3 separate regions of the Homo sapiens genome follow, and regions 1 and 2 are each linked to region 3. Evidence: promoter capture Hi-C in 16 types of primary human blood cells and fetal thymus (Javierre and others, 2016). All regions are on one chromosome and are shown on one strand. Each heading gives the region's core, a stretch centred on a gene start or on the middle of the fragment in contact. The rest is flanking DNA. Distances are from core to core; before and after follow the strand shown. Region 1 has its middle 3.9 kb from the start of ADM. Region 2 overlaps CTR9 (CTR9 component of Paf1/RNA polymerase II complex). Region 3 holds the start of DENND5A (DENN domain containing 5A).

What was found. The method cuts DNA at HindIII sites, captures the fragments that hold promoters and counts their contacts. A CHiCAGO score of 5 or more calls a contact.
Region 1: a contact is called between a fragment that was not itself captured here and the fragment with the promoter of DENND5A in region 3, in 1 of 17 cell types (activated CD4 T cells). The highest score is 5.2, in activated CD4 T cells.
Region 2: a contact is called between a fragment that was not itself captured here and the fragment with the promoter of DENND5A in region 3, in 1 of 17 cell types (neutrophils). The highest score is 5.0, in neutrophils.

Annotation. Positions count from the first base shown.
Region 1 is chr11:10,298,987-10,303,261 of GRCh38, reverse strand. It overlaps a transcript of SBF2 not described here. Among named protein-coding and RNA genes, the nearest start is that of ADM, 3.9 kb to the left of the region's middle. RefSeq lists enhancers at 202-381, 402-481. The HindIII fragment of the contact is 1,320 bases long and covers 951-2,270 here.
Region 2 is chr11:10,760,633-10,764,992 of GRCh38, reverse strand. It overlaps CTR9 (CTR9 component of Paf1/RNA polymerase II complex), which reads right to left. Exons shown (of 25, transcript NM_014633.5): 7 at 2,939-3,046; 8 at 1,455-1,562; 9 at 1,114-1,350; 10 at 792-881; 11 at 557-685; 12 at 262-445. Among named protein-coding and RNA genes, the nearest start is that of CTR9, 12 kb to the right of the region's middle. RefSeq lists enhancers at 8-1,207, 2,603-2,652. The HindIII fragment of the contact is 1,838 bases long and covers 1,337-3,174 here.
Region 3 is chr11:9,264,070-9,268,600 of GRCh38, reverse strand. It overlaps DENND5A (DENN domain containing 5A), which reads left to right and starts at 3,251. Exons shown (of 23, transcript NM_015213.4): 1 at 3,251-3,640. The coding sequence starts at 3,532. RefSeq lists enhancers at 2,950-3,019, 4,100-4,219, 4,380-4,531 and silencers at 3,300-3,399, 3,450-3,809. The HindIII fragment of the contact is 8,855 bases long and covers 1-3,948 here.

The DNA.
Region 1 (4,275 bases), core at 361-2,860, 1.0 Mb before region 3:
CAGCGCGGCGCACTGGTCTGGATCCGGCCGCCCGGCTGGGCGCAGGGCAGTCACCGAAGTGGCCTGGCCGGGCGACTAGTCCGTCTGCACCGCAGACAGCAGCTATTACTGAACGCCTGCTCGGTGACCAGGAGCCTCCCCAGCCTAACTATTGTTCTTCTCCCTTGTCTCCCATTTCCTTTTCCTTTCACTTTATCCTCTGCGAGTCAAGCTCTTCGCGCAGATCCAGGACTGGCTATCAGTCGCTCTGAGGATGCGACCTACTTGTCGCCAGCTTCCACTTGGTTCCGCGCCAGGACAGGTTTTACTTTCATTTCTCCCGCGCGCGCCTCCGACTGCTGGGGAGGTCAAGGACAGCTAGGCGTCGGCCCACGGCCAGGGAAGGTCCCGTGGTCTGGACTCGTTCCTTCCAGTCTCCACCAGTCCTGGGGGGTGGGGCGCGGCGGGGGTGTTCGTTCTCCAGAGAACTCTGCGACTGTACCTCGCTGCCACCTCGCTGCCTCCTCGCTGCCCTTTACAAAAGCTCGTGATTCCGTGGGGGAAACTTGAGCTGTGGCTCTGCCAGGAGGATCGCGAAGCAAGTGCCCTTGGTTCAAACTCCTCTTTGAGCTGCAGGCAGCTTCAAAAAGGAAAGCAAGCCCAGGAGTGTAGGGAGACTCAGAGGCTAGGCTCTGCCAGCCTCGGGTGCCTATGCCAGCAACCTCTTGGCTGTGACAAGAATTCCCACCTGAGAGTCTTGGCATGCACTTTATCAGCCTGGTGCACTTTGCCGCTCTGGCACTTAGAGATCTGTCACTTGAGAACCAAGTCAATTCTTTAAGTAAAATCTTGGATTGGCAGCTCAAAGTATTTTCCTAGAAAGCCCCTATCTTGGAGTGAGTGAGTGTGTGCGCGAGCGCGCACCCCGCTTGCATGGGTGAGTAGCAGGGGCTAGAGTGCTCCCCAAAGCTTCGTGGGTTTAAGTCGAAAAAAGATAAGGAGTTTGTTAAATCTGGGCATCTATGTTTTTTCTCGTGAAATCTCGAGTTTGTTTAATTAATCATCGTTAACGACAAAAAAAAATCACTAGAATGCATTTCTGGTTCAGTGGTTCTATGGAGAAGGAAATGCTGCAGTGGGAGTTCTGATCCTGGCAATTTATTAACATAAGTTGCATCCATTCAAGTGGCAGTGATTGTAGATTCACGTTGAGCAAGGACAGTACAAGGAAGGAAGGAAGTGAAGGAAGAAACATCTTTAAATTTCTGGCAAGAAAAGAGAAAAGAAAAAGAAAAAAAAATCCTTGTTAATGAAGATCTACTTTTTTTGTGTGCTCCAGAATTTCAAAAGGTCAGATTACAAATAAACCTCCAAACCACTGTAATAAATGTGTACATCCTGACATTAGGGAGACACACATACACATATGCTAAAGGGTTTTTGCGTAATGGTGTTTCAACTTCTTCACATTCCAATTGAATGATTTTTAGGCCCTATATCCAAGCCTGATTCTTAGTAAAGTTTGGAGTTTAAAAAAATATGTGGTAGTGGTTTCTCAGCTAGCACTGTGGACACAGTTCTTAAAGCCAGAGTGGCCATACTCAGGTCTTTCAGAGAAGCATTGAAAAATAATAAATATCAATGATATTAATAAGAATAACTAAAATGTGAGTAGCTAAGTGCATTGCATAATTATCTCAGATGCCTCCTTTATCAAACAGGAAATTTTATGATGCATTTATTATTAATATAGTTCAAAATGTCTTTTAAGCTGAGGACTTGTTTACAAAGTTCACTTGAAAACAAAGTTCAAGATGCATCCTGAAGTCATAACACAAAGTGATTTAGAGAAAGAACACAATCAGCCTTGTGGATTTGATCACTTACAAGGAGAAGTAAAGCAGGATACAAAGCCCAGGGCACTTTTTTGGGATCTCTGACTTCTCTAAGGACCTAATAAAAATATAGATCCTTTCCAGAAAAATGAACATGTACATAAACCGATTAAAGTATAAAATAGGCATACAGTTCCGGGAGGTTGACCAAGTTTAAAACCCTGACACAGAATAAAAAACACTGTTTCCATATTTTAAATTTCTGTCTGGTTTATAGTGGTAAGGGCAAGGAGGACAGTTAACCTCCCTCTTTAGGGCATAATATTTTCCAGAGCATCAGCATAAAGAAAAGTAATGCGTTTGCTGCCTCATTTTTGTGCTCCTGTACAAAACAGGCAGAGAGTAACAGTCAGTTCTTGTACATGGTAAAGCCAGAAGGCAAACCTCCCTGAAGCTTAAATAAGGTAAATTACTGCAGAACAAATGAAAGAGAAGAGATGGTCCAGTACAGTGGCTCGTGCCTGTAATCCTAGCACTTTGGGAGGCTGAGGCAAGTGGATCTCTTGAGCTCAGGAGTTCAAGACCAGCCTGGCAACATGGCAAAAATCCATCCCTACAAAGAAAAAAAAAAAAAAAGAGAGAGAGAGAAGAGAAAGTAGTAAACCTAAAGAAGCTTGTTACAATAATACCTGTAACAGGACAAAATGAAATTACTTCAAGAGAAATTTGCTACAGAGGGCACAATAAATGGCATTAATGAATGGATGATAAAAGAGATGATTAGGCCATTTGAATCATCCATAGCCAAAGAGAATGGTGTTAATGAAAGCAACCATCATGCTACTTGTCTCCAGATAGGGATCCTGTGATATCAGATTAGAAGCACCTGGAAAGAAGCAATTATTTTATATATGTATATATATTTATATATATTTTTTTCTTTTTATAGAGATGTGGTTTCATCATGTTGCCCACGCTGGTCTTGAACTCCTGATCTCAAGAGATCCACTCGCCTTGGCCTACCAAAGTGCTAGGATTACAGGTATGAGCCACTGTGCTCAGCCAAGAAGCAATTCTGATTTATAAGCCTGAATGAATTGATAGTTTTTTCATTCTTTCAACAAATATTTACTGATTATATATTATATACCCAGCACTGTGCTAAGTTCTCAACATACAGTAATCACCAATGCAGTCATCAACAAACTTACCCTCAACGAGCTTACAGCCTAGTGACGTAGCCAGATATAAACAAATCCTTATCAGAATTATGTATTTACATGATTATAAACTGTGTTAAGTATTCTGAAGAAAAAGCAAGACTAGGGGGATCTAATATTCGAAATGGAGGAAACAGCATGTGCAAACACTCAGAGATGGGAAAGAACTTGGTACATTAGAAAAAATGAAAGGAGTCCTGTTTGATAGGAATGCATAGAATGATAGAGAAAAGAGGCCTGAAATGAGATTAAAGAGGTCATCAGGGTCAGAGTAAATAGGACCCTTTCCGACATGAAGATTTTGCACTTTATTTATGGTGACATGGAAAACTATTGACAGGTTTGAAGACAGGAGAGACATGATCTGATATACATTTATTTAAACAATCGTTTTGGCTATGGAATGTGGTAGATAGATTAGAAAGGTGCAAGAAAGGAAGCAGCACGGTGGTGGTACTCTGGAGAGACTGCAGAGAGTCTAGTCCCCCCATAACATTTATTATACCCCCTCCCCACATACACATACTCATTCCATCCTAAAGTTCACCAGCTTCACTGACATACACTCTGTTCAGTAGCACACGGCCTGCTCTCAGAAGAGCCCACACTTGGTGGAATGCTCTGCTGAAGCTGTTTTGAAATTCTCCAACATTTCTGAACAGGCAGTCCTACATTTTCATTTTGCACTGGACTCCACATATTATGTAGCCAGTCCTGCTCATCAAACATGTGATCTAAGTAAAAGTAGCTTGTAAACTCTTACAGTACCTATATATACTGTAGCTGCTAATGTCAGGGGTACTTCAAATGAATGTTAAGATTCAACCATTCATCTCATCACACATGGACCGCAACTGCAGGACACTTCCTTTTTTTTTTTTTTTTTTTTTGAGATGGACTCTTGCTCTGTTGCCCAGGCTGGAGTGCAGTGGTGCCATCTCGACCCACTGCAAGCTCTGCCTCCTGGGTTCACGCCATTCTTTTGCCTCAGCCTCCTGAGTAGCTGGGACTACAGGTGCCCGCCACCACTCCTGGCTAATTTTTTGTATTTTTAGTAGAGACAGGGTTTCACCGTGTTAGCCAGGATGATCTCGATCTGCTGACCTCATGATCCGCCCAACTTGGCCTCCCAAAGTGCTGCGATTACAGGCGTGAGCCACCACACCTGGCCAGGACACTTTCTACGTCATCTATGAAGCCTTTTCTTTGCACCCCAAACACACACTCAAGGTAGAAATGGT
Region 2 (4,360 bases), core at 1,006-3,505, 1.5 Mb before region 3:
AGCCTAACAAAGGTAGCTGACCCACTGAAGATAACCTAGTCATTGAAATACGGTCCAATTGGTTTTAGTTGCTTATTTCTAGCACAAATGTAAGTAAAGCTGCACCTTTGTTTTAAGGCCACAAATTTGCCCTGGAGAAATGGGGACATTAGAACCTTAAACAATTTTTACTATCAATTCTAAATTTTTTTCAGGCTAAATTTTTGCTGCTCTTGTGGGAATGAACGGATTTCATTACATAAAGAAGTTTAAAATCCTTACAGTCAACATAATTAGGATGTTCGCGTAAGATGTTTTTATACAGTTTTTCTGCTTCATGGAATTCACACATCGCCTCATATAGCCTGGCGAGATTATATGACGTGGTAACGGAAATGGCGTTATAGTAATGCTCATCGTGTTCCGCTTCTGCTTTTGCACGGTCCAATGACGCCAAAAAATATTTCTATGAGAAAGAAAAATCACACTGTTAAAAGATTTAGTTTATACACTTTTTAAAAAGGTGTGCATGCAACTTGATTCAGTATAAAAGAAGGAAATATTTCTATTTTCCTACCTTAGCCTCCCCTAGGTTTCCAAGTCTAAAATGGAGGGCACCCACATTATTGAGAATCTCTGGAGGAACATCGGCCTGCACTTTCTCCTGAAGGATTCGTGTTGCTGTTCCATAGGCTGAAAGGGCACCCTGTATTTTCATGATTGACAGAAAAAGGTGTAAGTGGAAGAGAGACACTACACCAGGCTTACAAAAAACACATCATATGAGAGATTAAAAAACATTACTAAAATACCTGTATATCAGTCTGTTCTAAGATTTGTGCCAATTCAATCCAAGCTTCAACATCATCGGGATACTGTTCTGTGACCTTCTTCAAATGGCCCTGGGATAAAAGAGATTGTTAAGCTGAAGTATTCCATCTATAGGTTGTCAAAATAAAAAGTGGGGGCTATGTAAGTCTGTTTAATAAATCCATTGTTTGTTATCTAAACTGGAACAAGCTCAGCTAACAAAACTGTTTCTATCATATTTCTACTAGCAATAACAGGAAATGAGAAATGGGAGTTTTGGGACAGCTAACAGAAAACAGCTAAGACTTTAAAAAAAAGATGTACCTTGGCAATATCTCGTTTTTCTTGATCTTCTGAGGCAGCATAGAGAGAGCCGAGAATTTTCATAGTTTCGTAATTATTAGGATAAGCTTTCAAAACCTTCTCAAAGCACTGAGATGCATTTTCTTTGTCACCTCGATAAATATACATTTGTCCCAAACCAAAAAATGGGAGCACAAAAGAGGATGAGGCAAACTGTGTGGCTTGATAATAGTACTGAAAAGCTTGGTCATAATCTTCCTAAAGAATGAAAATTAAAAAAGACCAATATGTACAAAAGTATTGGAAAGACTTAAAACACTATAAGTAAAAAGATTAGACATTTAGAGAAGTTATAAAATTACCTGAACATGGAATGATCTAGCTAGCTGATAGCAGCTCTCTGCTTGCATAGCTTCCACTTCTGTATTATGGAATGCATGGAGGGCCAGATGCTGGACTTTACTATAATCCTGAACAAAGATCAGAAAGTCAACTGAGTGAATTCATAAGACTAGCTTGCATAGCTGTTTTATCTTAGACTAACACTTCGTTTACCTGTAAGATACATTTCCATCTTCTTCATAAATAGTTGCCTTTCAGTGCTATAACAGTTATAACCTAATCAATAATTCACTATGAAAGGGGAGTATGTTTCTACAGCCAGAAAGAGTAAAGCACTGTGGTTAGTCTAAGGTCACATAACTATTAACCACAGTGCTTTACTCTCTCTGGCTGTAGAAACATACTCCCCTTTCATAGTGAATTACTGACTTTAGACTATTAACTCTTCCTCAACTTATCCACCCACAAAATGGGAATAAGATTACCTACATCATAGAATTATTGTGAAGATTACATAAGTAAATACATAAAGCGCACTTTTTTTTTTTTTTGAGACAGGGTCTCACTCTGTTGCATGGGCTGGAGTGCAGTGGCGCCATCATGGCTCACCACTGCAGCCTCGACCTCCCAGGCTCAAGTGATCCTCCCACCTCAGCCTTCTGAGTAACTGAGACTACAGGTATGTGCCACCATGTCCAGCTAATTTTTAAAAATTTCTGTAGAGATGAGGTCTCACTATGTTGCCAGTGTTGGTCCTGAACTCCTGGGCTCAAGCAATCCTCCCACCTAGGCCCCTCAAAATGCTGGGATTACAGGCATGAGCCACTACTCCCAGTAGATTTAGTATTTTAAGAAACCTAAAATACCACTGCTTCTACAGAATTAGTGGCAACTTAAAAAATACAACATGATTAACATGCAAAATAAAAATGTCAGTGACTCCTTGTTCCCTACATAGCATGTCCAAATTCTGGTATTACAAAAATGCTCCACTATCTGAATCCAAAGCATTGCCTACCATAAGTATATTATACACTATTTCATAGATTTGTGTGTCTTTCCCTTTTCAACTCTCTAGTGACCTCTTCCTAAAAACCTAGTTCAAAAGCTCTGCAGCCTTGGTGAAAATTCACCTAAGCCATCTGACCACTTCCTCATTTCTCTACCATAAATGAGTAGATACCTTTATTTTTACACTTACATTTGTTTACATGGCTGCTCTTTCTATGAAATTGAACTCCTTGAGTACAGACACCATGTTTTACTAATCTTCACATCACTACCACAGTGTTGGGTACAGTATATAGGGGTCAATAAATATTAAGCAAATAAATGAATAAACAAATGTAGGTACCCCCAGGTAACTAATACAACAAACTCTATAATTTGGAGGGGGGAAAAAATCTGACATTTTCAAATTTCTTTCCAAGTTTAAAAAAGAAATAAAATATCAATTGCAGTACAGAAAAACAAAAATCAGAATTTAAAAATAAATGACTTCTACCTTTTTGAAGAAAAAGTGATTTGCCAAATGGTTCAATACCATAGGGTTGCTAGGATCAATAGTATAGGCTCTGGAAAGAAGCTGGACACCATTTTTAATGGAATCAGCCTAAAAGAAAACATTGCAACAAGGTGGAGTGAAAACAATACTAAATTAGCACTTTTCAAGAAGTTTTCTTTAGTCACAAGAAATAAGTTATAAATCCTAAGATCAGACACTAAAACGGATTAGAAGCTTCTTATGATTTTAAATATCTATATTGCATTTGTAATTAAATCTCTCTTTTAATCCTTAATTTTTTTGTGTGTCACTTTTTTCCCCTTTTTATTTTCTTGTTCAGTTCTTGCTTGAGACTTATCTCATCTACTTTATTAGTCCCTGCCCCTACTTCTCCCACAAAGAGCCACCTTTGTTTTTATTTATTTATATTAATTTTTATTTTTTTCAGACAGGATCTCACTGTGTTGCCCAGGATGGAGTACACTGGCATGAACACAGCTCACTGCAGCCTTGACCTCCTGGGCTCAAACAATCCTCCCACTTTGATCTCCCAAAGTGTTGGGATTATAGGTGAGAGCCACCATGCCTGGCCTCTACCACCTTTGGTTTTATTGATCCGAGCTGTTTTCTTCGTGTGACTGATACTGGTGGATTACCCAACAGCCATTTGGGTTGGTAACATCCTGCTAACAGAATCCAGATTTTGTAGCCTGTGAAAATCTTTTGAGTTTAGGAAGGAAAGTTCCCTTCCCCCCTTCCCCAGGCCCGGGGGATGAATCATGATTGATCTACACCAGTCCAGATAATCTTTTCCTCTGGCCTAAGGTAGTGGTTCTCAACTGGGGATGAAGTCATGTTTGGTTATCACAATTGGAGGAACGCTATCGGCATTTAGTGGGTAGAGGCCCGGGATGCTGTTAAAACATTCTATAATGGAAGGGACAGTTCCCCACAACAAAGAATTATCCAGCCCAAAACATCAATAGTACTGAGGCTGAGAAACCCAGGTATCCCTGTTTTGGACAATTATACATAAGGGGAAGCATGATGGAGAGCTTCCTTCTCAATATAAGACAGGGCTTCTCTAAGAGAAAGCCTTTTTATCCTTTCTCTTTCCTCCCTCTTTATAAGACCGATGTAATAATGAGAAGCTGGAGATGCTGCAGCCATCTTGTGACTATAAGGTGACAGACATGATGAAGAAAGGCTGCACATTAAGGAAGGGAGGACGGAATTATATAAAATCATAGGTTTGACGACAAGGACCTATCAAATTTGAGACCTTTGACAACTGGTTTAGTAAACACTAAAAGCCCTTATGTTTAAGGCACTGGGATGTGTTTTTTGTTACGTGCAATGAAAGCATTCCAAACTGATATACAAGTCTACGACCCCTTATCTGAGATTCTGAAATCTAAATGC
Region 3 (4,531 bases), core at 2,002-4,501:
AAAAAAAAAAAAAAAAAAAGAAAAAATCTTAAGAGCATCCCTTTCTATATTTTCTGACTCTCTAAGAAGCAATCACTCTGCCAAACTTATTTCCTACCGGGAAGGAGATCACTTCACAGTTGAGTATTCTGGGCTTCTGAGCAGTTACATTTCCCAGGGCAAATTAATACAGTTATGCATTCGTTTTTAACTTGTGTTTTACGAGTTGAGTTAATATGAGAGGTCGTCTAGCACCAGATCACCCTGGACACCTTGGATAAAAAGTTTCTGGACTTTTCAGTTGAGGACGTTTATTCCTTTCTCAAATTTCTTTTTCCACATCACCCCTAGAGTGATCATTCTCAGATTTGGGTCAGATATCACTCCTTGGCTTGAATTCCTTTACTTTACCTCACTCATCCTCAACTCATATATCTTATAGGATAAATTATTTCTAAAAAATACTATTTATTTATTTATTTATGACAGGGGTCACATTATGTTCTCCACTCTGGTCTCAAACTCCTGGGTTCAAGCAGTCCTCCTGCCTCAGCTGCCCAAAGTGTTGGGATTACCAGCGTGAGTGTGAACCACGACGCCTGGCCGAGGATAAATTCTTTAGCCTGGTATTTGAATCCATGCCTCCTTCCTCTGTTCTCCTTCTTCCTCCCCTGCCCTGGTTTCATTCCCTTTAAACTCTCCATCTCCCATCTTAATGTTAATGAATTACTTGTTGATGCCTGAACATACCCTTTTATCTGTTGCTCCCTGTTGTTACACATACTGAGTTAAACATCTTTCCCTGCCCCTTTTTACCTGAGAAACTTCCTGTTGATCCTCTGGAACTCAGGTCAGAGTATATACCTCCTTCTGGAAACCTTCCCTGACCATTCCCCAATCTGGAAAGATGTCCTCCTTCTGTGCTCTGTAACTTTCTTTTTTTCTTTTTTTTTTTTCAGGGTGTCTCTGTTGCCAGGCTGGAGTGCAGTGGCGCCATCTTGGCTCACTGCAACCTCCACCTCCCGAGTTTAAGCAATTCTCCTGCCTTATCCTCCTGAGTAGCTGGGATTACAGGCACCACCATACCCAGCTAATTTTTATAATTTTAGTACAGATGGGGTTTCACCATGTTGGCCAGGATGGTCTTGATCTCCTGACCTCGTGATCTGCCTGCCTTGGCCACCTAAAGTGCTGGGATTACAGGTGTCAGCCACCACGCCTGGCATATTTATTTATTTATTTATTTATTTATTTAGAGGTAGAGCCTCATTCTGTTGCCCAGGCTAGAGTGCAGTGGCACGATCTCGGCTTACTGCAACCTCTGCCTCTTGAGTTGAAGCGATTCTCCTGCCTCAGCCTCCTGAGGAGCTGGGACTAAAGTTGCCTGCCACCACACCCTGCTAATTTTATATTTTTGGTAGAGATGGGATTTCACCATATTGGTCAGGCTGGTCTTGAACTTCTGACCTTAAGCGATCCGCCAGCCTTGGCCTCCCCAAGTTCTGGGATTACAGGTGTGAGCCACCACGCCCAGCCTCTGTGACTGTTTAACTCACTAATCCCCCTCTACTGTCTCTGTGTCCCCAGCATGCAGGATACGGGTGGAGCATCACCATGAATGGGCGTTTTGAAGCAACCTTCTCCTCCCCACTTTTCTCCCCCTAGTTCAGGCAGGTTAGATACAGGGAGGAACAGGTGCTATGGCTCCGAGAGACAATGGCTATAACCTCTAGGTAAACCTCCCCAAGGGAAACAATATTTGAGAGAAGTACCCAGGAGAACCTAGGAGAGAGCCTAGGCTCAGCCTTTGGGGAAGCCAGCTGCCTTCTACAGCTCTTAGTGGCAGCCTCCCAGAACAAACCGTAAGAGTACTTCCTTCTGGAACAATAATAATAATCCAGGCTGGGGGCTCATTGGCTCATGCCTGTAATCCCAGCACTTTAGGAGGCAGAGGAGGGCGGATCACCTGAGGTCAGGAGTTCGAGACCAGCCTGACCAACACGGTGAATCCCTGTCTCTACTGAATACAAAAAATTAGCCGAGTGTGGTGGTGCGCGCCTGTAATCCTAGCTACTTGGGTGGCTGAGGCAGGAGAATCACTTGAACCTGGGAGGCAGAGGTGCAGTGAGCCGAGATTACGCCATTGCACTCCAGCCTGGGCAACAAGACAGAACTCCGTCTTGAAAAAAAAAATCTGTAATATTTACTGAGTGATTTCCATGTTCCAGGCAGTATTCTCATTGTTTTACCTGTACTTGCATTTACCTTATGTAATTGTCTCAAAAACCATGACGCCAGGCACTTAGAGATTAACTTGCTCAAGGTCAAAAGTAAATGATCGTCAGGATTGAAATCCGAGCATTTTTTTCTAGAGCCCATGCTAGTGACCACTATACCTGTGTTGCCTTTCTGGCCTCTGATCTCCAGTTTCCAACAAAGACACATCTGCCTAGCTTCTATGGGAAAGGAAATCGGAGGGTCCTAGGACAAGGACCAATAGGTAAGTTTCCCTTCGCCTCCTCCCTATCCTCTTACAGGAAAACAGGTTTAGGGGTGGATCTGAGAGTTTTCACAGAGTGAAGAGGAAGAGGAGCTCCCAAATGGCAGGCGCCTCTGGAGGCTTCCAGAGAAAAAAGGAGAGAGCGTGGGAAAAGGGCAGGCTGGGAGGTGGGAGCGGCGAGGAACGGGGAGCTGACCACAAGCCCAGGATTCCAGACCAGGCTTATGTCTCTTAGACTCAGCGTAACCTTGGATAAGTCCTTGCTTCTTTCTGAGACTCAGTTTCCCCGTCTGTAAAATAAGGGTAAATATAAAACCGGCTCATCCGCCCCTGCCAAAAGAGAGGACAGGGAGAAGGCCCTGTCTGGGGTCTAGGCTGACACGCTGCAGCTAGGATTAGGTGAGCTTCCGAGCTCAGTCGTGAGACCCCATCCTCATGGCAAGGCCGCGCTAAGATCTCTGGACCTCTGCTTGCTGGGTGGGTGGTTGGGGGCAGAGCATGGGCCAAATGCCCGGCTCTGCAGGCTGCGCCCACTCTTCTCGCACCTCCTCAGCCCTCCCTAAAGGAGTCTCAATCCCGGGGGAGTGGCAGTTGCGGGCGACCAAGCAGTCACCGGCTGCGCTGCGGCGACCTCCCGGGAAGCTGCGGCCGGCGGGGTCCGAAGAGCATCACGTCATCCTTTCCCCCAGGAGCCCGCCCCCTCCCAGACGGCGCCTGCGCAGGCGCGGTAGGAGGAGGGTCACGGTGGGGGCTGTCCACGCGCTCTCCGCCCTTCTCCAGGCTCGCTCGGGCCGCGGCGCTCTCGGCTAGCTGCAGCGGCGGCGGCGCGGAGGGGAAGGCATCCAGGATGCGGTGCGGGGCGGCCCGGTGCCCCCCCGCCCCGTCACGGCAGCCGCGGCGGCCGAGGGGACCGGGCCAGGGCCGGGGGCGGCGGCCCGAGCCGCGGTAGCGGCGGCGGCGGGAGGGGCGGCCTGAGGGCGGACGGGCGGGCGCCCGGGTTGCGGGGGCTCGGTGCCGCTCCGCACTGCCCGGCCGGTCTCGGCCCCGGCGCCATGAGTGGCGGCGGCGGCGGAGGGGGCTCGGCGCCCAGTCGCTTCGCCGACTACTTTGTCATCTGCGGACTGGACACGGAGACCGGGCTGGAGCCGGACGAGCTGTCGGGTGAGTGCGCGCCGAGCCCGGGGCGCTTTCCCGCGCCCGCTGTCGTCGGGGACCCCAGAAGAAACCTTCCTTCAGCCCCGCTTTGTCCCGGGAGCCGGGCGAGTGTCGGCCGGGAGGACCAGGGCGGGCGCGGGCGAAGGGGGCTTTGGACTGGAGGGGGGAAACGGATGAGGGGCTCTGAGCCATGAGGGGTCCAAACCTACGGCCCGCTGCGCAGTGGCCACGTCTTCGGCGACCAGAAAGAGGGAGGGTTGTGTGTTCTCAGTTTGGTGTAGGTTGAGTGACTTCGTTTAAAATAAAGGAAAGCTTGTCCTCTGGCACCCATTAGGGAGGGAAGGCGTCCCACGTCCTAGTGAAAGTAAGTTCCACCCAGACTTAAAAAAAAGGAAAACAAAAACTTGGTGAGTTTATCTGGCCACTTCCCAAGAAGCTTGTGATACTAGTTCCTCAAAACCGTTATACCCCAGCCCTGGGCTGGGCCCCCTGAGTCAGATTGCAGCTCTGCGCGTCTGGATGGGATATGAAGTAATAAAGTGAACTTGGGCGGCACCAAGAAGAGTAGGAACTCCCTTAGCCTTGGAAAGGGCTTGTATCCCGGGGCCATGCCTTTTTTGAAAAGTAATTTATGTCCTTTATGAGGACAGAGGCGTTTGTGAATAAAAGGGTAGCAGCATTGTAGTTGGAGAGGCTTGGTGTGTTCTGATGCGTTTCAAGTCATATTTGAAAGGGAAAGTGATGAGGGGAGTCAAAGATGGGGCCCTGACCAGATTTGGCACTCACTGCAGAAGGCCGTGAAAATTATACAGTCCCCGTGAATTTTCCACTGCACTGTCATTGGAGTCTTTGAATTGTAACAGTTTTGAAAATAAGTTTTTGTCTGGAGTTTCCAGT